Linked DNA regions of Homo sapiens: all the other regions are linked to region 7. The links are contacts of gene promoters, found by promoter capture Hi-C in human tissues and cell types (Jung and others, 2019). All regions are on one chromosome and are shown on one strand. Each heading gives the region's core, a stretch centred on a gene start or on the middle of the fragment in contact. The rest is flanking DNA. Distances are from core to core; before and after follow the strand shown. Region 1 overlaps LOC124902631 (a long non-coding RNA gene). Region 2 overlaps LINC02752 (long intergenic non-protein coding RNA 2752). Region 3 has its middle 85 kb from the start of CSNK2A3. Region 4 overlaps LINC02752 (long intergenic non-protein coding RNA 2752). Region 5 has its middle 73 kb from the start of LINC02752. Region 6 overlaps GALNT18 (polypeptide N-acetylgalactosaminyltransferase 18). Region 7 holds the start of GALNT18 (polypeptide N-acetylgalactosaminyltransferase 18).

What was found. Contacts are between HindIII fragments. The study calls those that stand out against the background at their distance.
Region 1: a contact is called between a fragment that was not itself captured here and the fragment with the promoter of GALNT18 in region 7, in 1 of the 25 tissues and cell types used here (mesenchymal stem cells).
Region 2: a fragment that was not itself captured here is called in contact with the fragment with the promoter of GALNT18 in region 7 in 1 of the 25 tissues and cell types used here (stomach).
Region 3: a fragment that was not itself captured here is called in contact with the fragment with the promoter of GALNT18 in region 7 in 1 of the 25 tissues and cell types used here (neural progenitor cells).
Region 4: a contact is called between a fragment that was not itself captured here and the fragment with the promoter of GALNT18 in region 7, in 1 of the 25 tissues and cell types used here (bladder).
Region 5: a contact is called between a fragment that was not itself captured here and the fragment with the promoter of GALNT18 in region 7, in 1 of the 25 tissues and cell types used here (IMR-90 fibroblasts).
Region 6: a fragment that was not itself captured here is called in contact with the fragment with the promoter of GALNT18 in region 7 in 4 of the 25 tissues and cell types used here (bladder, dorsolateral prefrontal cortex, mesenchymal stem cells and 1 more).

The regions. Positions count from the first base shown.
Region 1 is chr11:11,247,191-11,250,735 of GRCh38, forward strand. It overlaps LOC124902631 (a long non-coding RNA gene), which reads right to left. Exons shown (of 2, transcript XR_007062594.1): 2 at 149-366. Among named protein-coding and RNA genes, the nearest start is that of CSNK2A3, 100 kb to the right of the region's middle. The HindIII fragment of the contact is 3,685 bases long and covers 113-3,545 here.
Region 2 is chr11:11,145,837-11,149,109 of GRCh38, forward strand. The region is part of intron 3 of LINC02752 (long intergenic non-protein coding RNA 2752); the gene reads left to right. Among named protein-coding and RNA genes, the nearest start is that of LINC02752, 32 kb to the left of the region's middle. The HindIII fragment of the contact is 6,611 bases long and covers 1-3,273 here.
Region 3 is chr11:11,266,150-11,269,522 of GRCh38, forward strand. No RefSeq gene overlaps it. Among named protein-coding and RNA genes, the nearest start is that of CSNK2A3, 85 kb to the right of the region's middle. The HindIII fragment of the contact is 5,514 bases long and covers 1-3,373 here.
Region 4 is chr11:11,165,397-11,168,841 of GRCh38, forward strand. LINC02752 (long intergenic non-protein coding RNA 2752) reads left to right here. Exons shown (of 8, transcript NR_187402.1): 4 at 2,427-2,761. Among named protein-coding and RNA genes, the nearest start is that of LINC02752, 52 kb to the left of the region's middle. The HindIII fragment of the contact is 3,344 bases long and covers 129-3,445 here.
Region 5 is chr11:11,186,770-11,190,421 of GRCh38, forward strand. No RefSeq gene overlaps it. Among named protein-coding and RNA genes, the nearest start is that of LINC02752, 73 kb to the left of the region's middle. The HindIII fragment of the contact is 3,554 bases long and covers 1-3,307 here.
Region 6 is chr11:11,318,584-11,322,272 of GRCh38, forward strand. The region is part of intron 9 of GALNT18 (polypeptide N-acetylgalactosaminyltransferase 18); the gene reads right to left. Among named protein-coding and RNA genes, the nearest start is that of CSNK2A3, 33 kb to the right of the region's middle. The HindIII fragment of the contact is 7,313 bases long and covers 1-3,689 here.
Region 7 is chr11:11,619,724-11,623,283 of GRCh38, forward strand. GALNT18 (polypeptide N-acetylgalactosaminyltransferase 18) reads right to left here and starts at 2,282. Exons shown (of 11, transcript NM_198516.3): 1 at 1,636-2,282. The coding sequence starts at 1,870. RefSeq lists enhancers at 163-1,132, 585-724, 1,765-1,814, 2,025-2,104, 2,222-2,722 and 1 more and silencers at 1,305-1,374, 1,395-1,474, 2,225-2,584. The HindIII fragment of the contact is 13,654 bases long and covers 1-3,560 here.

The sequences.
Region 1 (3,545 bases), core at 705-3,204, 370 kb before region 7:
CTCTCCTGTGTGCGTGTGTCTTTCTCTGTCTCTTTCTCTCACACATGCACACACATACACACACCCACCCTTGTCTTAACTGGAGCCAGAATGCCCCTGCAAAGTAGGTACTTAGTGTCAGGTGAAGTGCTGGGCTTTATAACTTATGTTTTCTCACAAACAGATGGCATTTCTGCTTTATTTTATAATTGAGGAAAGAATCCTCAGTGAGGTCAGGTAAGTAACTTGCCCATGGTCACAAAGCATGTAAAAGGCACAGCTGAAATTTCAATAAAAATGGTCTCATTTGAAGTCCAGTGTGCTTCTCATCACACCCAGCTTCACCATCCCCCATCCTTTCTCCTCTTAGCTCTCATTACCAGCTACCTGCAAGACACAATGAAAAAAAATACATGAAATCTTACAAGCGTGGGCACCAATATCCTTACCATTTTTGAGGCATCTTAGTTTTCATGCTGTGCCCACAATGGGGGCAAATGAGCCAACTGTTAAGGAACAAAGCCATTGGGGTGTGTTAGTCCAGGTAAGGCTATAAAAGACAGCTTTTACTCTGTCAGGTTATGTCTGGCATCAGAAATGTAAGTCCTCTGGAGAGTGCCTGAACTCTGGCCCAAGGTCAAACTTCAGAGCACCAGACTCCAGGGTAGAGGCCCATGTTCAAGAATATCTGTGCCTAGCTCATAATGATAATGAAAATAATAGCAATAGAAACCACTAAGTTTCTATGAATTAAACACCGCTTATGCACTACTTCTCAGTGTCACCTTTCTCTTATTGCAGCAACTGTTGCAATGACCAGTGCTGCATGGATGTCTTAGTCCGTTTCATACTGCTATAGCAGAATACCCAAGACTGGGTAATTTATAATAAACAGAATTTATTGGCTCATGGTTGTGGAGTCTGGAAAGCCCAAGATCAAAGTGCCAGCATCTGGTCAGGACCTTCTTGCTAGCATCACATGACAGGAAGTAAGGGGATGAGAGAGAGAAAGAGGGGGCTGAACTCACCCTTGTATAATGGTATAAACGACACCCCTGAGAGTGGAGCCTTTGTAGCCTAATCGCCTTTTAAGAATGTTACAATGACAATTAAATATCAACATGAGTTTTGGAAGGGACAAACATTCAGACCATAGCAATGGGCTTTAATCAATTTTACACAGGTACAACTTAACAGTTTCTCAACTGAGATATGTTCATGTACTGCTTGCCTTTTACCCTGGGACCTCTCCGTTGATGCCATTGTAAAACCCTACTCTGCATCACACAAGTGGAACATAGAAGTACAAGAATGTTAACATCCCGTAAAATAAAATACTGGCCAATGAAAGATAAAAGCCATTGAATACATCCTTCCCCCATTCTCTCCTCTGATAGTCCTGAGACACAGCTTGTGTGGTCCAAGAGCTCTCAGAGATGACACCATGATGAAGTATTATGGGATCACCTCAATTAGTTATAGCCGGAATTTGGTGACTACAGTGTGCTCAGGCTGGAGAGTGTCTGGGCATGGGTGAGGCTAGTCCCTGGATTAGGGTATCTATAGGACAAGAAGTCTCTACCAAAGTGTTGATGGCCTCAGTTTCAATAGTGATGATGAGCTGGATTATTAGGTTAAGCTGGGATCCAAGGTAAATTGCTTCAGTACCAAAAACATATTGGCCTACATTCTCTACTTTCTGAAGATATTGGACTATTAACTTTCATATATGTAAAACCAGCTGTGAACAGAACATGACCTAGGAATGCTACCTTCCTGCTCTGGGATATACTCCCTTTGGCTGGTCCCAGAGTTGAGCTGTTTAGCTAATCAAGAGCTTTCTAGTCCAATCAATGGCTAGTGGAATATCCGATCCAAAAGGTGTATTTTTGGATAATCTTATATCAGCACTTGAGCAAAAACTTCCACATAGCCTCTGAAATCCCAGGCAAAATCAAATCAGGATAGAACCTCACGTGTGATAACATTCATCCTCACCATGACTTTCATCCTGAGCCTGGACTTCATCGCTCGTGTTCAGAGGTGCTACATGCTAACATATGAATGACTGAGGAGTGGTCTAATCTAGGGTTTTTTTCTACCTGTGCTGACTGCAGGTCCTTCTCTCAACTTTAACTAGCAATGATTCTACCAAGTTGTTGCAAAGGGGCTGTGGCAGAGACAATGCTAGTGTGGGAACACAAGAATACTGAATGCTGCTTGGAGGTAGAGGAATCTGACCCATGTCAGGCTGTGAAGCACTGAGATCTGGGATTCTTTGTCACTTGAATTTAACTCACTAACACATGCATACATATACACATATGCACACATATACACCTATATGGTCGCTCTTCAGTATGGAGATTGGTTCCAGGAACTCCCAAGGGTATCAAAATCCACAGATGCTCAAGTTCCTGTACTAAGATGGCATAGTATTTGCATCCTCCTGTATATTTTACATCATCACAAGATTCTTAGAATACCCAATACAATGTAAATGCTATGTAAATAATTGTTATACTGTATTGTTTAGGGAATAATGACAAGAAAAAAGTCTTTACATGTTCAGTATAGATGCAACCATTGATTTCTTAAATATCTTTGGCCCAGCAGAGTGGCTCACACCAGTAATCTCAACACTTTGAGACGCCAAAGCAGGAGGGTCACTTGAGGCCAGGAATGTGGGACCAACCTGGGCAACATAGTGAGACCTCATCTCTGTTGAAGTATATATGTAATATATACATGATAAAGATATTTTTGACTCAAAGTTGGTTGAATCCACAGATGAGGACCCCACAGATATGGAGAGCTGACTGTACATACATCTATTTGTATGCATATATATACCTATATGTGTGTGTTTATCAACACTAGAGGGTAGATAACTTTATTCTCAAGCATGACACCCCAGGTACTTCCTCACCTTAGGGCCTTTGCACATGCTGCTTTGTCTGCGTGAACCCTCAGTCTGGCTTGCTACCTTTTTTCCTTCAGGTTGCTCAGAAGTCGTTCTCAGGAACATATCCCTTGAACACCCTATAAAATTGCTCGCCCCTGGCATCTCTATCCCCTTTCCCTACTTTATATAATTTCACAGCACTTCTAACATGCCATATGTATATAATACGTGTGTGTGTGTGTGTGTGTGTGTGTGTGTGTGTGTGTGTGTGTGTGTAACTTGTCTATTGTCTGTTTCCCCTAAACAACATGCAAGCCCCAAGAAAACAGGGGTGTTCATTTACGTAGTTCTGTCCTCCATCCCTGTACCATAAGCAATGCCTGGCACATGGTAGATGCTCAATACATATTTATTAAATGAATTCATGAACCCCTTTTACAGAGACAATCCCAGAGGGGGTAGTTAGACTCAGAGCTAGTGAGTGACAAGAAAGATTTCAATCCCAGGAATTTCTGCTTCAAAGCATTGCTATTTTCTGCTATTAGGCTTCAGGCATGTGCAGAGTAGCCACGGGGTTGTTGTAATGGATGATGCAACCCTGAGGAGAATATTTGCTGTCCGACACCAGGTACAAATGAGCTGACTCTGTCCCAGTGGCCAT
Region 2 (3,273 bases), core at 321-2,820, 470 kb before region 7:
TAAACTGCTTGAGTCATCTCATCTGTAAAATGGGAATTGTAAGAGTATCAGCCTTATGGGGTTCAATGAGTTAGTATGTAGAAAGTACTTGAGCAGTAGCTGGCTCATAGTGAGTGCTCAATAAATGCAGCCTGCCATTATTAGGTTCCTCTCTGATCTGGTGCCAAGGGTCCTTTTTCAAGATCTGCTGCCCTGCTCAGAATGGTACTCTCTGGCCATCCCACATCTCGCACCTGGCACATGGTTTTCTCAATGAATATTTGTGACATGAATGTACACATGGAACTTATTCTCTCCCGGGCTGTGACCCTGGAGGGTCAGATGAGGGACAAAATCTCTAAGCTGTGACAGGGAGTAAAATAGAGCTCTCTTAAGTACCACAGTCACTTAAACTTCAACAGTTTTCAATATGGTACCTAAACCCCAGTAGCAGTAAGCTAACAATTTCACGTCAGGATGAAATAGGAAGCAACATTGGTCTACAACTTGGAGTTGATGGCCAAGTACAGAGTTTAAGACCTTTGCTACTTGTTGGGAGTACAACCTTGAAGTACTTATCTCCCCTGAAAAACCTTAGTTTCCTCATCTGTCAATGTGGATTACAAGCTCTACTTCCCAGGGCTGCCATGAGAACTTCGCATGAGATTCTGATGGAACTCACTTTGTACATGATGCTGCGCCACAAGGGCCACCCTCTTCCTCAAGTCCCTGCCTTGCTCGGGTGGATCTCAGCTACCAGGGAGCAGCACACCATTTGCAGTTTGGATTCCATTTCCTCTTGACTCTTCTTTTCATTATAAACATGATAAAAGTGAGAGAGACAGATGGCAAGACTTGATTCACTTTTACAAAATGTTTTTATGGTGTGAATGTAAAGCTGAAAATGAGGGGAACGAGAAGCTTTCTCGTTCCCCTCAATATCAGGGGAGTTGGGGAGGTGGTGAGCCCAGTGGGGAGGTTTTGGCCTCCAGGGGAAAGCTAATTGCCCATGGCTTGAGCAGTGCTCCCTGCCACTCGTCTACCACTCTGGACACCCTAGGACATCACTGTCAGTGAGGAGAGACAGAGAGCAGATAGACTTTCTCCTTAAAGCACCTTCCCGAAGGGACACTCAAAGTCAGACACTGGTCACTTACTGGCCGATGGCTCTGGGTTGGACCAAATGACGCTGCCCTTTCCAGCACAGTGAGGCAATGTTCTCTGGCTGAAGCCAGGGCAGCACAGAGTGTGCCTGAGTTCCTCTCAACATTTGATTAAGGCCAGGCTTTCCCAGCATGGCACAATCGACATCTTGAGCTGGATAGTTCTTTGTTGTGGGTGCTGTCCTTTGCATTTTTGTATGTTTAGCAGCATCCTTGGCCTCTACTCACTAGATACCAGTAGCACCCTCCCCATTCCAGTTGTGAAAAACAAATCCCCCCAGCGGCTGGCAAAACTGCCCCTTATTGAGAACTACTGGGGTGCCCCAGTAGTTGGCACTACTGATTGGGGTGCCCATTGTCTGCCCTTCTCGTGGGGCTGGACAAGCCAGATGGAATAGGCAGAGAGTTACCTGGCAGCCCTTTGCTGGGGATCTTTTGTCTACTCTCCACTCTGGATCAAGGAGCTCCACTGGCCTCTGACTTCTGGTTGGCTTTGGCCAGTGAGGAACACAGGGAGGAGATCCAAGGAAGGACAGAGGGCGAGGTCAAGGTATTTGTTCCCCCACTTCCTCCCTGCAGGTTTGAGGGTGTGGCTGCCTCCCTTGCAAAAGGCCACCTCTCCGTTTTAGTGGCCTGCTCCAGGTTCTGGGACCCGCTTCTCTCTTAGCCGCATCAGGCCTGGGGGTGCTAACAGCTCCTTCTCTCCCACTGCTGCCAGCCCCAGGGTGCTGCATGCTTTGGTCAGTTACCTCCACCCTGTCTTCACCTTTCTGAATTTCTCTAATTACTACATTTGAATGTGCCGTCTGCTTGCTGTTGAAACATAACTGATTTTTACAAACAAATGTTTATTTTTCTTGCATTAGTTCATTTGACCATTCATTTCTTCAACACATTATTTTTCATATCTACCTATCCTGGGCCAGGCATGATGCCAGGTACTGGGGACACAGAAATGGATCAGACATCATTCCTGCCTGAAGGGAGCTTACAGTCTTCCTGCGGAATAAGACAGGAGGATGGTGATAGTCCGAGACCTGGTGCTCACGTGCTCTATGAGATGTCTGGTAAAGCCCTGGGGAGGACACAGGAAGAGTATGGCCTAGGGAGCCTAGTGACCCAGGGGAGAAGGTACTGGATCTCCTGCAATGATGACACATCATCAGGTGGTTCTACGAGGACGTCTCCAGATCACAGCAGCGCCTCCTAGGCAGAGACACAAAGTCTGCAGGCTCCTCTCTCCAGGCCCTGGGGACTCTCTCTGGGGAGGAGTAAGCTATGCACATTCAAGCCAAGAGCCTTCTTGCCAGGGCTCCAGAGCTCACTCACCCTGAGGCCCTCCCCTCTTTGGCTATTTGAAATTCCTGACTGATGCTGTGAAGAAAGAGAACATTCCAGCACAGAGAAGTCTTTCCCCGCAGCAGCTGCCAAACAGGCTCTTTGCCGAGGTACCTCCCTGCTGCCTGCCAGCCAGCCATATTTCAAAGGTCACAATTTCCTCCCTGTGGTTTTCTACAGAGCTAAAGTCTCCAGGACCCTGAAATAAATTAAAATATTGATTGATTCTTAATATTCTCTCAAATCTCTCAAAATCTCCAGGTCTTATATAAATCAGTGTGCCGGTTCCAGGGACTTATTCAATAATCTGCAAAGTATCCTGGTAATTACTTTTGGGCTGACCCCATGGCAGAGGGAGGCCACCTTTCCATCATTTTTAGGGCCCTGGGTACAGTAGCTGATCAGAGGACTCTCATTTCTTATTTTACTTACTGAACCTCTTCAACACAGTGCCTTGGACAGCACGAGGCAGCCCACCTGCTGGAACGAGTCTGTCGGGCAGACCTGGGTCAGGAACTTGCCTCTCTGCTGCCTCTTTGCTGCCCTGCCTCATTCTGCTTCTCCCCTTCACCCCTCCCACCTCATCCCCTGCCTTTTACTCCAGGGTCCTTAGCTTTTTAGTTCAAGGACAAGGCAAGGATAGTTCAGAAATTAATTTAATAACACTCCATTTCTTCAGATTAAGTAGAGAGCTTGTCTTATTGGGGAAAAGCTGTCTGAAAGCCTCAAGCACATGGGACTTTCTGATGCTGCCCAAGGCAGCTGCCTGGATTTCAGGAGCGAGGGTGGGATG
Region 3 (3,373 bases), core at 663-3,162, 350 kb before region 7:
TGGACTGTAAAGGAACCTGGGGGTGGGAGCACGAAGGGAGCACAGTGCCCCCTAGAGGCTGTGGCGAGGGTGGCAGCGGCAGGAGCCAGAAGGCAATGGGAGGGGCTCACGGGGAGGAAGAGATACTCAGAGGGTACAGATCTGGACAACTTGGCTCAATTGGACAGGGACATAGAGACATTATGTGGTGACAGTCTTTAAAACCTGGTTTCCACGATGTGGCTACACCATATAATTTTAAAAGACACCCACATTAGGGCTAATGTCTCTCCAGGCCCTTTCTGCCCAATCTTGTTTCCAAAACAACAAGGAAGGTTAAAATTCCTGACTGTGGGTAGAGAGGTTGGCTGAGGCAGAGGGCAGGGCAGTGGGACTTGAGGGTCTTATGGGGTCAGGTGCTAGATGTGGTCTAGGGTGTCTACCTCATTCCCCTCCCTCCTGTTTGGAGCTGAAGGCAGGAGAAGGAGCATGGCTGAGAGATGACACGTTTTTGGGTGACTATTCTGTTTGTTTTACTGGGTTTTAGAGAGTGGTGACCATGGCGATAAAATCTGAAGGGCAGAGAGTGAATGCTTCTGTCTTGCCTCAGAACCCCCTTACATCTCTTGCTTGTAATTAGAAATGGTAAGAATAAAAGAGCTCTGATTTCCAACAACCTTTGCTTCACAAGGGCCATGTCAAATGATGACAGCCCTATTCTTATAAAAGCAGATTCTGGGAGGAGCAGAAATCCCTTTTCTCTATGGAGTCAGTGTGTTTGCACTCATGCACGTTTGTGTATCTGAGTATGTACATGTATGTCTGCATGTGTCCAACCTGCTGCATGTGTGTGCATATGTGTATGTGTGTGGCTATGTTAACCTGTGCGTGGATGTGTACATAGATGGTGAAACATGTGTACCTCTGTTGCATGTGTGCACAGCCGTTGTAGGGATTGTGTGTGCATTCCCCCATGGGCGAGGGGCTGTGAGGGAGTAGGTCCTGGTATCTAAAATCTTTACATCCTGCTTCTATCAGTCTTGTTTGTTGTAAAGAGCAGGGAGCTGGTCAACCAGCTGAGGGAAAAGAAAAAACATCAGGGTGTGTATGGGTTGGGTCTGGGAGGAGGAAACCCAGGCAGCTCCAGGGCCAGTTTGCTGCCTTTTGCTCATCAGCTCCTTTCTTTTCTCTGCTTAGTTGTGGTTTTCCCCATGATCCCAGCCTGCACAGGGGTCTAGTTTCTTGGTCCTCTGAGGCTGGCTCTTCCCCAGGTACATCCTGTGCATGGCCATGGGTCCTGGCCTTCTTCAATTGGCTGAATATGGTGTGTCATGGTGCAAATTCACAGGCAAAATTTGATTGGCCCCAGCTGGTCATTTTTGTGCTTAGTCATTACCTACTCAGCAGCCAACAAAATACCTGTCCATGGGTCAGGCTGAATCAGCTATGGTCATGGCACAAACAGGGTCACACCTGGGACTGTGGTTGGGATAGTTTTCTTTAAAAGAGATGTGGACATGGAGGACAATGATGAATGCCTCAGATACTTATGCAAAAATTCCCTGTCACCTGTGAAGTGCCCACCCTTATCTCTGTGGAGGTCAGGACCATGGGGATGTCCCCCAACAAGGAAGGACTTGCCTGAGCAAGGCGGGATGAGCGTAGGCAGCCTCCTGGGGCCTGGCCTGGCCTGGCCCTCACCACCCCTCCCCTATGTCCCTGTTCCTTGAAGGAGGGAGCTTCGAGGCTGAATTGTGTCACCTGACCCCAAACTTGTCCTAACCCCCAGTACCTCAGAATGTGATCTTATTTGGAGATAGGGTCTTTACAGAGGGAATGAAGTTAGTATGAGGTCATTTGGGTAAGTCTTGATCCAATACGACTGGCGACCTTAGAAGAAGAAGAGATTTGGAAATAGAGACATGCATAGAAAGAAGAGGATGTGAAGAGACACAGGGAGAAGAGGCCAAGCACAAGCCAAGGAGAAGACCCAGAACTGATCCATGCCATCCTTCCCTCACAGCCCTCAGAAGGAGCTACCCCTGCCAACATCTTGATCTTGGCCTCCCAGCCTCCAGAGCAGTGAGCCAATACCTTTCTGTTGTTGAAGCTCCCCAGTTTGTCACACTTTGTAACAGCAGCCCTAGCAAACTAATATACCTCCCCCAAAACTTCCTCAAAATAGGGGAGAGGATGTGGGGCACTAACACCATGCCACCAGGTGTGTGTGGCAGCCAGGACACCGGGCTTCTGACACTCAGCCTCTGGATTCACCAAATGAGGAAGCTTCAAGGCTGGTGCCTGAGCTAGTCATTTAAAATTTTTGATGAGACCCACTGAAGATTTCAGGAAGGAAGGGATCTGATCATATTTGTATTTCAGGAAGACCCTTGTAGCTATCACAGTGTGGAGGATAGATGAGTTGGGGAGGCTGTCTGTGAGTGTTGAAGAGGCTTGGGGAAGATTTCAGAGCTGTTTCGGAGGCATCGCTGCCATAATATACTGAGGGCAAGAAGGGGTGGTGGAGGGTGAGGACAGGAAGAGCTCAGTCGCGAGGAGTGTCTGGTTCGAGCACCTGGTGGAGGTGGTGCTGGTCCTGGTCCCTGGGCCGGGCCTTATGGGGGCCCTCAGATCAGCATTGTCTGCATTATGGCCACACGCCTGCCCAGGGCCCATCAGCAGTGAGAGATCAAGCCTGGAACTTAGAGGAGAGCTCTGGGGTGCACACGTGGATCTGGGTATCACTGGTGTCCAGGTGCAGATGGGCCATGGGTGGGGACAATCCGAAGGAGTGGGCGTAAGCTGCTTCTCCCAGAAGCATACTCAGGGACAAGCATTTGGGAGGTGATTGGGGCAAGTGCAGAGGAGTGAGGGATATGAGACAGGAAAGGGAAGAAAGGCCAGGGGCATTCAGGAGCAACTGGGGCTGAGTCCCTCCAGGGCCTGTCTGAGACTACAGGATCAGGCCTCCAATTTGCACCCCTGAAGGGTGAGGAAGCCTATCCCTTATTGGCTGGGGGTTGTTCCTATGAACCAAGCTCTCTAATACTTCCTGTCTGCCCTGCATGGGCTAAGCAGGTGCCTATGGCCAGAGAAAGGCCTCAGGCAGTGATGCAGGCTGCTGGAGCTATATGGCTGTTGGCAGTGACTTTTTTTTTTTTTTTTTTTTGAGACAGAGTCTCACTCTGTTGCCCAGGCTGGAGTGTAGTGGCATGACCTTGGCTCACTGCAGCCTCAACCTCCTCAACTCCTGGGTTCAAGTGATTCTTGTGCCTCACCCTCCCAAGTAGCTCGGATTACAGGTGCCTGCCACCACACCCAGCTAATTTTTATATTTTTAGTAGAGACTGGGTTTCACCATGTTGGCCAGGCTGGTCTCAAACCCCTGACCTCA
Region 4 (3,445 bases), core at 551-3,050, 450 kb before region 7:
TTTCCTTTGCCAGCTGGGATAGTGTTCAACTTTGTTGTTGAGGGCCCTGGATGTGCTCCATCCCCTCTGCACACCTGCCCACCAGCCTGGGATGTCCTGCTCCCCAGAGGGTGGTTCTACGTGCCTGAGGGCCATGGAACAGCTCTGGGTTAGGAACCCAAGAGAACTTCTCGGCCATCGTATTTCTCTTGGACTATTCTGATAGCCTGTGAACTGGTCTCCTTTCTTCCATTCTTGCTACCCTGCAATAAATCCTGATCCCAACTGGTTAGTGATGTTTCAGTCATCATACATAAAGTTTTCATATATATCACGTTCTGATTCAGACTAATTTAGCTATTCTAGCATATTGATTCGTCTATTTGATTTTAGGTCCTTAACACAATATTTTCATTATGATATCTTTATAAAATATTTTTGTATCTGGTCCTCCTCACTGCTCTTCAACACACTTTTTCAGTGATTCTTTCCAGATGAATTTTAGAATCATTTTGTCATGTTCCCCAGATAACTCCAATATTATAAGTTCATTTGGGAAAATTAACATCTTTATGTTATTGAGTTTCTCCATATAAGGTATTTACACATTTATATTTAGTTAACTTCTTTTATATCCTCAATGAAACATTGTGATTTTCATTATCTAGGCCTTGCACTTTCTCTTTCTCTTTTATTTTCTCTTCTAGGCATTTAAGTCTTTGCTGTTACTGTGTGTGGGATTCTTTTCTCTTATATTCTTTAAATAATTACTGTTAGTATATTAAAAAGTTATTGATTTTTGCATGTTTACTCTGTAATGAATCACCTTATTGAATTCTTATTAATTCTATGTGTGTTCAATAGATTCTCTTGAGTTTCTTGGATACAAAACCATATTGACTATAAATAATGATAGTTTTTCTCTTCCTTTCCAATAACTATACAACTTACTTATGTTTTGTATCTCATTATGTCAACCAGAACTTCTATAATGATGTTAAATAATAATAGTGTTCCAGAAAATTTTTACATTCCCATGCAAAAAAAAATGAACATTGACACTTTTCTCATTCTATGTAAGCAAATTAAAATGAATCATAGACTAAATGTGGGAGCTAAAACTATAAAGCTTTTATAAGAAAGTGTAAGATAAAAAAATCTTTGTGTCCTTGGGTTAGGTAACATGTTTTGTAGATATGACACAAAAAGCATAAATCATGAAAGAATGATAAATCGAATGAAATTGAAACATTGATATATTGAATTTTATCAAAATGGAAACTTTGGCTTTTTGAAAGACACTTTTAAGAAAATGAAAAGACAAGCCACAGACTGGAAGAAACTATTTTCAAAACACAAATTTGACAAAGAACTTGTATTCAGGATATATAAGGAATCCTTACAACACAGTAAAAGGAAGACAAACAGCCAAATAAATAAATAAGTGAACAGTTTAAACATATACTTCACCAAAAAAAAAAAGATGTATTGGTGGGAAGTAGACACATGAGAAGATGCTCAAAATCATCAATCATTAGAAAAATAAAAATTAATGTCAAACCAAGATATCACTGTACATCCACTAGATGGTTAAAATTTAAAAACTGATAATAGCAAGTGCTGATGAGGATTCAGAACAACTGTAACTCACATGAAGTGTTGGTGGGAATGCAAAACAGCACAGCCACTTTAGAAAACAATTTGATAGTTTTTTATAAAGTTAAACGTTTATTTAATATGACCCAGCATTCCTACTTTTAGATATTTACCCAAGAAAAAAATTTGTATACACAAATGTTTATAGCAGATTTATTGATAATAATCCCAAACTGAAAGCAATACAAATATTCATCAATCATGGAATAGATAAACAAATTTTGGAATATTTATACAATGAAATATCATTCATGCAACAACATGGATGAATCTCAAAAAACAGTTTGCTGAGTGAAAGAAGCAGGACTCAGAAGGCTACCATCTGACTTTATTTATATGGCATTCTGGAGGAGGCCAAATTATAGAGATAGAAATCAGATCAGTGGTTTCCAGAGCTGGGGTGGAAGAGGACATTAACTATAAAGGAACTTGCGAGAAATTTTTGGGGTGATGGATGCTCTGTGTATTGAATATCATGGTGCTTCAACGATGGCATTTATTTGCTGAAATTATCAAATTGTACAGTTTAAGTGAATACATTTTATTGTGTGCAAATTGTACCTCAGTAAACCTGACTTTTAAAAAAGAAATATGCAGTCAACAAAAATTCTTGTTTTGTTCTTTGTTTTAATAGGAATGACATTATGTATTACTTCTGGCCACAGGTTTTAAAAAATAAGATGTTCTTTATTATGTTAAAGAAATAACCTTCTGTGTCTTTAAGATTTCTTAGTTGCCTGCAACAGAAACTGATTCTGGCTGATTTAAGCAAAAAAGAAATTTGTTGGCAGGATTCTGGATGGTTTAGAGAATCACCAGGAAGTCAGGAACAAAGAGTTCCTGGGCAGCTGGCACCACAGTGCAGATCATGACATGGAACACAGAGGAATGGCTGCTGCCATCTTTGACCATGGGATGCCACATCTCGAAACACCAACTCTGCTGGTCCCCAGAGCCCAGATACAGCTACTTGTGCTTCTATCACCGTGTCCCTGGAAACAGATGTTGCTGCTATTACTGGAACTGCCATAAAAGATTCTCTGCTGCCTGGCTTTTTTGCTCCCCAATCTGAGCTTATGATAAATGCCTCACTGTTGCTGCAAGGAGGGGGCCAATACCCAGGACAGTAAGCACTTGGCCTTTCTTCCATTTCTACCGTGAAAGATGGCTCTGCCTCCCACCCAAACTCAGAAAGCGGGGAATTTCCCAAACATTGGAAAACCTTCAGATGTGGAGTGCCCTCCCACTAAAAACATTCCCATCACTGTCCACTTGCATCATTTAGTCCTAGCATTTTAAAGAAGGTCCCCTTTAGGAACTGATTTTGAATCTTCATAAATGATTTTCCTGCTCCTCTTGAGATAATCATATGGTTTCTCTTATTTGACCCATTGATATGTTCTATAAACAGATTTACTAATATTAAAACAGCTTTGCATTCTTCGGTAAACCCTATTTGGCTGTGGTAAATTATTCTTTTAATATACTGTTGAATTCAATTTCCTGGCGTTTTGTCTAGAATTTGCACATTTATATTTATGAGTGAGGTTGGTCTAGTTTTATTTCATGCCGTCTCTTTGCCAGCCTCAGTGACATTCCGGGCCCTTCCTCCCAGGGATTTTGTGCCCCCCTGGTTGGGATTTGAGCCCTAAACTATTTTTCATAAACCACAGGCTTTACAGCAGCCCACGTGGCTCATCGAGTGTGAGGAAATTATAGGAACGGACACAGATATGGTGAGAAACTCTAGATGCCCGAGGCATCCCTTAAATCATTCTGGACATTTACTGAGGGCCTACCGTGTGCCAGC
Region 5 (3,652 bases), core at 281-2,780, 430 kb before region 7:
TACCATACAGAAATAAGCAAAAATGGTCTGTAGTCATGTGACAATGTGAATGAATCTCAGATGACATAATGTTGAGTGAAAAAGGCCAGACCCGAAACAGTACCTATTTGTTATTCCATTTGTATAGAGAACAGAAATGGACAAAACTAATCCATGCTGCTAGATATTAGGACAACAGTCACCCTTGCATAGGCATGGTAACTGGAAAGGAACCCAAATAGGGACCTCAGAGTGCTTGCCATGTTCTATTTCTTGATCTCAGTGCTGGTTACATGTGTGTTTAGTTTGTGAATATTCATTGGGGCCAACATCTATGTGCCCTAGAAAAGTAAGTTATGCTTCAATAAAAAGTTAATAAAAACTTACCCTATATTCTATGGTGTTATGATGTGGATTAAGAAAAGTAATTTCTTAGCACAGGTCCTGGCACTTAGCAAATATTAACAGTGACAACTATTTTTATTTTTGCTGTAAAACGTAAGCTATTTTCTGATGATTATCTGCTACAGCTAATGCTACCAGCTTCATTTTTAAGTTGCTTGATGTTAGTCTGACAAATGAAGGCCTGTCTAATCATGACTCTGCTGCAGTGACTTTGAAATTTGTTAAAATTTGTGTAGCAGTGTTGAGCATCATGAGATTTGTAAGCTGAACCCTGGTGAACCGAAATGTCTGTTAACATGAAATTATTGCTCTCCATTTTGAATATTTTTCTAAAGCGGTTTTGGCAAGTGAGGCCTAGAGCCATGAAAGGGCCATGACTAAGGTTTTTCAGAATCACCTCTGACATGGATTTGACATACAGGTTTGTTATCTAAGTGAGATTCAGAAATGGCTTCAGACAGGACCTTTGCAGGTACCAGTGAGTTTGAGGAGTGTTAGAAATGCAAAATGTCCATGTTACCTGGCCCCTCAGCACATACTGGTCCCATTTGCACTCTGTACAAAGTTTCTTATTGTCTCTCTAATGTTATAATGATCCTAAGGCCAAATTCTCAGATAGATGCAGATGTAATTCACGTTGAGCTTTGCAGTTTATTTGCTCATACTCTTTCTTATTGCAGAAAGTCTCAAAGTGGTTTACAACTGCTGTTTAAGCCATATTTAGGGACATCTGCTAGGCTGTGACCTCCCTCCTCTAAGAACTGTCCCTCTCAATTATAGTGGGGGGCCTGGAAATCATGTTTACACCTTATTAACCCTCCTTCCATAGCGGAACAGAACTGGTGGAGATGGCTGACCCAAGATGGGCCAATTGCAGTCTTTCTCCTGAGATTTTGAAATTAGTACCTAGAGATAGCAGTCTCTTTCAACTAATTGGCTTGACTGAGACCTATTTTCACAGAGAAGAAAAGAAAGCTGGTTTATGGAGGAAGACAGAATGAAACAGATACGTAGGAGAAAGCAGACAGAGTACTTGGGGAAGAGAAAGGTAAGAGACTAGGAGAGGGAATGCTTTGGTTTCTTATATTTTTCTCAATCCTGGTTTTTGTTCCTCCTCTGATCCAACTATACTTCCTCTCCTTGTGGCCATGAAATAACCCCATGATATTACAGTGACTCCTCTCATTATGTTTAGTTTAAGCAAGCTCAGGTAGGCTGCCCACAGTCTCCAACTAACACAGAACATGTTGCCACAAGATAAAGTCATATTTAAAATGTGTTGACAAATGGAAAATGAGAACTGAAGGCTAGGATGGTGTCTGGGGTGAGAGATGATACCAGTGGAAGCCACAAGGCCCAGTGAATTTGCTGCTAGCAGCCAGCATACCTGGCTTTCAGTTTTCTAGTGGCCAATGCCAAGGAGCAGGACTCTCCAGGGATCAGTGGTTCTCAACCCTGACTGTATGTTGGGGACACTAGTGAGCTTCTGAAAAATACTTCCAGGCCCTACTCCAAGAGACAGTGATTTAATTGGTCTAGGCTGGCATCTGTATGTTATAAAAGCTTACTAGTGATTCTAAAGTATGGCCAGAGTGAAGCGCCACCAAGTTATACTATTCACAATATGTAGAAATAAAAGTAAACAGATAAACCAAACAAAAACAACTCCTTAAGAGAAGCAAAGGAGTGGAACTGAGAGAGAAATTCCTCCTGTGAATTTGTAGCTGGAGGGCATGTGTGATACAATGAACAATGTCCTCAAAAATATCCCTATAGTAAATACTCAATTTTCCACAAATGGAAACTCATGGAATTATCCCTAGGTACCACTCAGGAAAAATCACCTCTACAGTCATGGGCCAAAGCATCCTTGCCACTTGGCTCCATCCTGGAATGTGTTCGAGAGGATTTAGAACAGATTCTTACATAAGGACTCCAAAAATTAAAACAATTTCTTTTTCCATGAAGAGGGCCTATGGTTTTTTTATTAGTCCATTTTCACACTGCTGCAAAGAATGACCTTAGACTGGGTAATTTATAAAGAAAAGAGGCTTAATTGACTCACAGTTCTGCATGGCTGGGGGTGCCTCAGGAAACTTACAATCGTGGTGAAAGGTGAAGGGGAGGCAAGGCACGTCTTACATGGCAGCAGGAGAGAGAGAGAAAAAAGAGAGAGAGAGAGAGAACACAGCATAGGAGAAACTGCCCTCATGATCATGATCCAATCCCCTCCCACCAGGCCCCTCCTCTGATGTGGGGATTACAACTAGAGATGAGATTTGGGTGGGGACACAGAAACAAACCATATCAGTTTTCATCTGATTCATCTGATTATCAGTGGTGGCTCTGAACCCTGTGAAGCTTAAGAACCACTGGAAGAGAAAAATTCATGGACTGCTTCTTTCTGACAATTTTCTAATCGCACAGGAGTCTTTTAACTGCTCGATTGGGCTTCCAGGTGCCAGGGCTACCTGGCATGCAATGCAGCTTGCTGTACTGCTGACTTGAGCATGGAGCAGGTCTGCCTCACTGGTCAGCTGGCAGGCTCAGGATCAGCATTTACTTAGGAAAGTTGAGGAGCCTGGCAAGGACACAGACATAAATAGAAAGCAAAGAGGCAGGCTAAGATTTTCCTCAGGAAGCATTTGGATACACTCCAGTGCACAGACAAAAGGGTAATTGAGCCCCCAGTATTCTCCATCAGAGCACGAACAGCAATAATTTTTGCTTGGAAAAAATTTAAAGCAGGTGGGCCAAATACCCAATTTGTTCACAAAATATTTTGGTAAACACCCATGGAATATTTAACCTTGAAAAATAGAGTTTCCTTGTGCCCTTTCCATGCTAAATTGTTTGCCGAATATACGACTCTGTGACTTGAATTTGTGAACTTGTTTCTTAGGGTTATTGGCCACAAGTCAGTTTAATATTGGAGGCTGTCTACAAAAAAATAATGACTTTGTTTTTAGAAGCACTTGATTTGTGGTCCTGTTTTACAACATTAATTAGATAGTAGGTATGCTATCTATTAAGGTTAGTCTCAGCTCATGACACTATGGAATCTGTGAATAAGTGAATACCCTTCTTTCTATTTGTTATAACAAAGGAGTAATATCCTGATAGCCTAATCACCTAAGAGATGCTAATTTAACAGAAGAAAGGCCAGAATAAATATCCATTTTATTTCTTTGGAAGATGCTATCTGAGCCATCAGAAGAATACCTTTATTGGGTAGGTCCTGGATCAGGTGTTGGCAAACCACAGTCTA
Region 6 (3,689 bases), core at 301-2,800, 300 kb before region 7:
TTTAAGTCTCGCAGCTTGTGGTACTTTGTTACGGAAGCCCTGGGAAACTTCTGCAGGGGAAAAGGTCAGATGGTCAGGCTGTGACCCATAAGAGTCACTGAGTCACTAGTGGCCTGGAGTGTCCCTCGACCTTCAACAAACTTTGTGAAAAGAGTAAGAAAAATACCTGAAACCTAGAAATAAGGCAAAAACAAAGAGGGGAAGTGGCCTGTCCTTTTAATATTATCCTGGGACATTAACGGGCCCATCCAAGAGTATGTAATTTTCCAAGAGAATGTACTCATGCTTGACTTTGCTATTTACCTTTTGATTCTCTCTCAGACACTATGAAGTTGTATGCTAACTCCTAGATTTCTGTCTGTGTAGAAAAGATCACATGAAAGGCTATAATTTTATTTCCCCATAGGACATGAACCACTTTTGCATTTAATCTCTCCATTTTATTTTGACGTTTTTCTTTAGAAAATGTCTACAGATACTCAGTTCCTCAAATGCACTCAGTACTTGCTTAACCGTCTTACTTAGAAAATGCCTACAGATACTCAGTTCCTCAAATGCACTCAGTACTTGCTTAACCGTCTTACAAAGTCAGCAAGATGAACGGGGCCAGCCTGCAGTCCTGCCTTCTTGCCCTTCTTACACCTTCACCATTCTTGGCCATTGCTGGCTGAAATCCAAGTCATGAAGCTCAAATGTTGCCCCATATGCAATGCTCAAGAGAGAAACAAGTTCAAATCTTGGCTGTGGTGAAGATTTGAAGATTAGAAAATAGAGAATAGTCTGTTGCTAGCACCAGAATATAGCTTCACAAGGACAGTCACTTTTTTTCTGGTTCATCCATTTCCCAGGGCCAAGAACAGTATCTGGCACATGAATGCTGTTCATAAAAAAGGAGCAATTTGGACACAGACACACACATGGAGAATGTCATGTGAAGGGTGGAGTTATGCTGCTACAAGCCGTTACCTTGATTTGGACAAGGTAATGAATTAAAAAGTCATAGAATTCCAGGGTGCAAGAGCCCTTAGGAATTTCTTAGCTTAAGAGCCTACATGGTATAAAAATCCTTCAGAATGTCCCTGGAGCCTGCCAAACATGGCTCAGTGCTGATGACGGAGATGTCAAAATAACCTGAGCCAATGATTGGGAAGAGTTTCCTCATGCTCAGCCAAAAATCTGCATCCTTATACTTTGGAAGGAGTTTTAACGTCCCCCTTAAATCTGTTCTCTTTTTAAGCTAAACAATTCCTACTCTATTAACTCAAGGACATGGTCTAGAGTGTCTTTACCAATCTGGTAATAGTAATAATAGCCAACATTTAGTAAGCGATGACTGTGTACCAGATTTTGTTCTCTAAACGCTTTATGTGCATTGATTTATTTAATCCTTATAACAACTCCACAAAGTTAGTACTACTATATTCTCTCTTATGCTGCTACAAGCCAAGGGACCACCAACCACCAGCCAATTTCATTACAGGCAATAAAATTGAGGCATGAGGAGACACTCACCTAAGAGACTCAGTTAGTAAGTGGCATGGCTGGGATTTGAACCCATATAGTCTGGTTCTTAATCACTATATATTGCCTCAGAAATTGTCTTTCAGCATTTTCAGGCTTCCTATCAAGTGTGATGCTTAGGGAGGAATATGTAAGTTTTCATAGAAGAGGTCAGAAATACCGTTACCCTGGCTTGGTCTATATTCCCTAGGCAACAATGTAAAGTGCCACCTCCATCTCCTGCAGTTGTACAGTGCACAACCTGCACAATGGCATGTGACAGTTCCATCCGTGCATACACGACCTTCCCAAAGCTCTCCTTGTCCTATGTGGCCATGGTAACAATAAAGATCTTGCTGAGAACTGCCAGTAGGAGGGGGTGACATCCCTGGAAATGCATGTTGAATGTTTGATTTGGACCAAGTCTGTAGGATTCAGAGGATCTTTGGGGTCCTCACCTGTCCACAGTCTCCTTCTGAGATGTACCCTGACTTCATTCTCAGGTAACACGTCCTAGAGTACCCCTTTTCTTACTCTTCCATGAGCAGTGAACTTCTTGCGGGCTGGAAGATGACTTTGGGAAGCCTTGCCAGACAGCAGCCCCTTACCTTTCACTCATCCCCTGCCCCTGCGTTCATCATGGGTGGATGTAGGAGCTCAGGCTGGGAATACCCAGCCCGTCCCCAGGATAACCTTGTCCTTTCCAGCTCTCCCAGCTCACTGGGCAGGCCACAGCCTCAACAGAGTCCTGCCACAGCAGCATCCCTACCCCTTCCTGGGAAATGTGTGTAATCTGAGGCTGGTCCCAAACCTCCCTACACAGCACTGCTAGTTGTGCATCTGAGCATGGCCTGGCGTGAAAGGTCACCAGGACACCAAGGGCTCCCTGTACAGCCCAGCTGCATGAGTGTTCTGTGGCTTTGGGGGATGAGGAAGGGAGACCCAACCCTTTGAGACTTGCTGCAGCTTCACATCAAGAAGCTTATTTACAAAGGCAGCTCCCAGCATTCCTGGCAAGCACAAATTCACAGTTTCCCACGCCAACTGAATTTCAAAACAAAGGAATTAGAGATAAGCAGATTGTCAGAGCTAGGAGTGTTGAGCCTAAAGAAGCCCAATCCAGCTTTATCATCTGCAGACAGAAATACAGGCTCAGATGAAACTCATCAATGGTGAGAGTGGTCAGAACCATCCTTACCTTTGGGTGGAGGTATGACCAAGAGGACAAATGAGGAAGCCTTCTGGAATGATGGGTTTGAACTTAATGGTGACTGTACAGTGTATACAAAGTTAAGAACTGTGCAGTTAAGATTCGTGTATTTTAGTATAAAATTCTACCTCAATAAAATAGTAAAACAAAATAAAGGCCCAGAGAAGATTAAGGTGATGTTGCAATTGTGTAGCAAGACAAACCCTTGAACTCAGGCATCCCAATGCCCACTTCACTGTCCTTTCCTAACTCCCTTACATTTTTGGTGCCATAGTAACTCAGTGATGCTCCAACAGTTTATGAGTAGGTTTTCTGTTTTGTTTTTTTGAGATGGAGTCTCACTCTGTCGCTCAGGCTGGAGGGCAGTGGCGCAGTCTCAGCTCACTGCAACCTCTGCCTCCCAGGTTCAAGTGATTCTCCAGCCTCAGCCTTCCGAGTAGCTGGAATTACAGGTGTGTGCCAACATGCCTGGCTAATTTTTTTATATTTTTAGTAGAGACAGGGTTTTGCCATGTTGGCTAGGCTGGTCTCGAACTCCTGACCTCAGGTGAACTGCCTGCCTCGGCCTCCCAAAGTGCTAGGATTACAGGCGTGAGCCACCACACCTGGCCTATGGGTAGGTTTTGACCAGGGCAGGCCCCCATGGCAGATGGCACCATGGGGTCAAGGAGAGTCAGTCCAGGGTTGGTTGCAGCTAGAACCTTGAGGGTATTTACACTGAACAGGAGTCAGGGTTAAAGTGGAGTAATAATGGTAACACCATCCTTATAGAAATACTAATAGATAACATTTATTGAGGACTTACTACATACCAGGTATGGTTTTAAATATTTTACATGTGTTAAATCCTCACAACAACCTTTTTGGTGTATCTACCATTGTTAGTCCACATTTTACAAACTAAAAAAATAGGCTTAGATTTTAAAACCTTGCCAAGATTTTACAACTAGAAAGGCTCAAAGCTGGTATTTAGATTCAG
Region 7 (3,560 bases), core at 1,032-3,531:
TACTTCTATTGCTGATTAATAGTCAATCAAGACCTATGGGATGGAAAAGGACACGTAAGAAATAACAGCAACTGGCACCCACAGATAGGTAAATTGGTTTTCAAGCCCAGTGCCAGGTTGAGAGGCAGAGGCAGGTCTGAAGAAGAAGCTGTCAATGTCCCTCTTTTCTGGGAAGGTGCCGAAGCCATGGGCTTGTTTTGAAGTCATTAGTCAGGAAGCACTATGGATGTGGATGCCTCTCCTGCACTCACCTGAACCTCCCTGAACCTTCCCCTCCTGGAAAGGAACTATTCTGGACACCTGGGGAAACACCAAATTCAGACGGAGGAGCCATCTCTACTCTGGCAAGAGCAGCAGGTGCAAGGATTGGAATTCAGACATCCACGTGTAAACAAAAGGGAGTGCTCCTGGCGGGGGGGTGGGGGGTAAGCCTTCAGTTCAATTCGATTTTGCCAAGGTCTGCCATGCACTGGCCCCTGAGCCTGGTGGGCCTGCTAGGTTTACAGGGGAACCAAGCTCGGCCCTGCCCTTAAGAAGCTCACACACCTGGAAGAAAGCAGGGGGCGCGGGGAGGGGAGGAAGTGTGGACGTGAGCGCGCGCGCGCGCGCGTGTGTGTGTGTGTGTGCACACCCGGCACCAGTGCTCCTGGCGCCCGGAACTCCATTCCCTCCCATGACAGCTCATTGACCAGGTCGCCTCGGGAGAGCGCCCTGCAACCCCCACCCTCCCTTTGGACCCCCGCGCTGGTCTGGAGCGCACCCAACCAGCGTAACCTTACACTTCAGACCCAACCCAGGTCTGCTCAGCCCCGGCTGCTCCCAGGGCCTGAGAGTGGAGCTACAGTAGGGATCGGCCTTCACCCGGTCCCGGGCGGCTCCGCGGGGAAGGCGCAGCCCAGGGCGTGTTCTTCCAGTCTTGGGCGGAGTCATCACCACAGTGGACAGAGACTCCAGCGCTACTTCCCGGCGTTGACACCTGCTCCTGGAGAGGGTCCTGGACCCGCGGGCTGTGGTGGGGGTAGGGACTGCTATAGGTTCAAGCGGCTTTTCAACCACAGAGGGCTCCTTGCATTCCCTATCGCCTACCAACGGGATCACAGCAAGACTGGGGCTGGGGCTGATACAACGCAATTTTCCTAGCCTCGCTTGTCCGGCAGCCTGCGGGTCTTAACTGCCAATAGTCAGGGCCGCCGCGCGGGCATCTCGCCTGACGCCTACAGTGGCCAAAAAAGCTCGTTTGCCCGCGCGTTCCCTCTTGTACACACACAGACATTCACATGCACACACACTCTGAGCCGGACTTGTGTGCGATCCCGAGAGCCCGCGAGCAACCAGCCCAGAGTCACACGCACATTTGGACACGTGCGCAGCGCGCCCCCATACCGCCAGCTAGCTGCACACATCCGCTCGTGCAGCCCTGCGCACACACGTGTGCCCCGGGGAAGAGCGCACGGCCGCAGACAGAAGGTCCCGAACGCAGGCAGGAGCTCACACGCAGGCCCCACGACTACCACGCATCTGCGGCCCCAGAGCCCCGCCGTGGCTGAGTTGATGCGCACCAGCCCCAGCGCACCCCGCGCCGCGCGGGGCACTCCCGGGCCTCATGGGCGACCCAAGTTTCCGGGGCGCCCGTACCTTGAATGTGCTGCTTGATGACATTCTCCAGGTGGTCCAGCCGCTCAATAATCTTCAGAGTGTCCCCTTTGTCTTCCTCCAGCTTCTTGTCGGGCGCCGGCTCCTGCCCCCGCACATACACGCTGGCGATGTAGTTGGTGACCCAGCCCACGTAGAGCAGGCAGATGATGTTAGTCATGCCGCTCAGGATCACGCAAGTGGACACCAAAGTTTTGGTCTTCCTGGTGCACACCATTCTGGGCTCCTTCCTCCATATAGAGCTCCCGGGGGCCCTTCCTTGTCGTGCGCCCCGAACTCCCCCGCGCTCGCACCCCGTAGCACGTCCGGAGCCGCTGGGCACCTCAGCACCTGAGTCCCGAGGTTCTCCAAAGCCCGGTCCGCTGCCGGTGTAGCCGCCGTGCCCAAGTTTGCAGCTCCTGCCGCTGGCCACCCGGAGAGACCTTGACAAAGGAAACCAGGTGGATTTTTTTCCAAATTAAAAATCCCTGAACCCTTCCTAGAGGGGTCACGGGTAGCCGGCAGCCGCGCGTCCAGATGTGTACGTCTGGGAAACTTTGCCACTGCCTGTGTCGGCGGCCACGCCGCTTCCCATCGCCAGCGCCGGCTGCCTTGGCGGTCCGACCGGCCCGCGCTGCTAGGAGAACAGCGGCAGCGGCAGCGGCGGCGGGGAGAGCCGCGAAGCAGAGCGGCCCGGCCCCCTCCGAGCGACAAGCGCTGCCACCAATCGCGCTCCGGCTCGGGAGAGGGGCCGGTGCTGAGCGGCAGCGGACCAACGGGGAGGGAGCGGGGGGCGGAGTCCAGCTCCCAGGCCCCACCTGCTGGCCGCCCCTGGCTCCCGCCCCCAGGGACGCGCCCGGGCCTCCACCCGCGCCTGCACAGGCTGCCCCAGACCTGAAGCTCCCGGAGAGGGCGCGCTGCCAGTCCCAGCCCTTAGGTCGGCAGCTTCCTCCGTTAGGGGAATTCCATCTCTTGCTCTTGGGCAGGAATCTCCTGGTTTTGTGGAGGGGGTGGGGGGTTCGCACGGGTCAGCTTCTTTCATCCGCCCGGGGCTTCTCGCATTGGTGCCACCAGTCGACTCCTGGAATCTTTTCTTGGTTGCCAGGACGCTGAGAAGCCAAGGAAGTGCCAGCCCCAGCGGCATCCACTCCTTCCTTGGCCTCACTTGGGCCTCCACCCTGCCCTCTGCCCTTCAGCCACCGGCCTCCTGAGTGTGTCCAGACCTGGCCCTAAACCTGGCTGAAAGGAGCCAACCCTCCGGCAACCTCCCAGAAGCAACATTGGTGACCTATTAGATGACTCTCTCGACCACTTCTTCCCCCCCCCCACCCCCCACCCCCCACCCCCACCGCCTGCCCCAATTTTTGCCCCTATCTAGGTTTTTCTTTAAGTCTGTACAGCTCCCAGGACATGGATGTGTCCTTTAAGCCCAGTTTTCATTTATGTGGAACCAGGGTCATCCAGTGCATAAAGAAACCCTGCAAGGAAGTGCCGCTGAGGGGAACTGAGGTCTGTGAACTGTAAAGCCCTTCTACATGTTGTTTATGATTGCTATCATAGAGGGCGGTGGGAGAGACCTGTGACTGAGCACAGGAGGAGGCCAGACGCAGACAGTGATACTGCTGTGTTTGTTCTTACTGCCAATGTTTACTCATATTATCCTCTTCTGCTGAACACCCCGTTCTCAGCACCTGAACGGAATTCCTTTAAACAAAGACTTTTTACAACATAGATTTCCTGCCTCTTCTCCATCTCTGAGTTGCTTTATTTTTTTGGCCTAAGCCAGGGAGGCAGCCTGCTGCATGCCCACTTTGTTGTGTGCCAGCCTTCCAACCAGCCACAGAAATACTCAGGGCAGCTCCATCCTGGGATATCTTCTGGATTCAAATGACTGGCCCCACAAGAGAGGGAGAGCACAAAACCAAAGA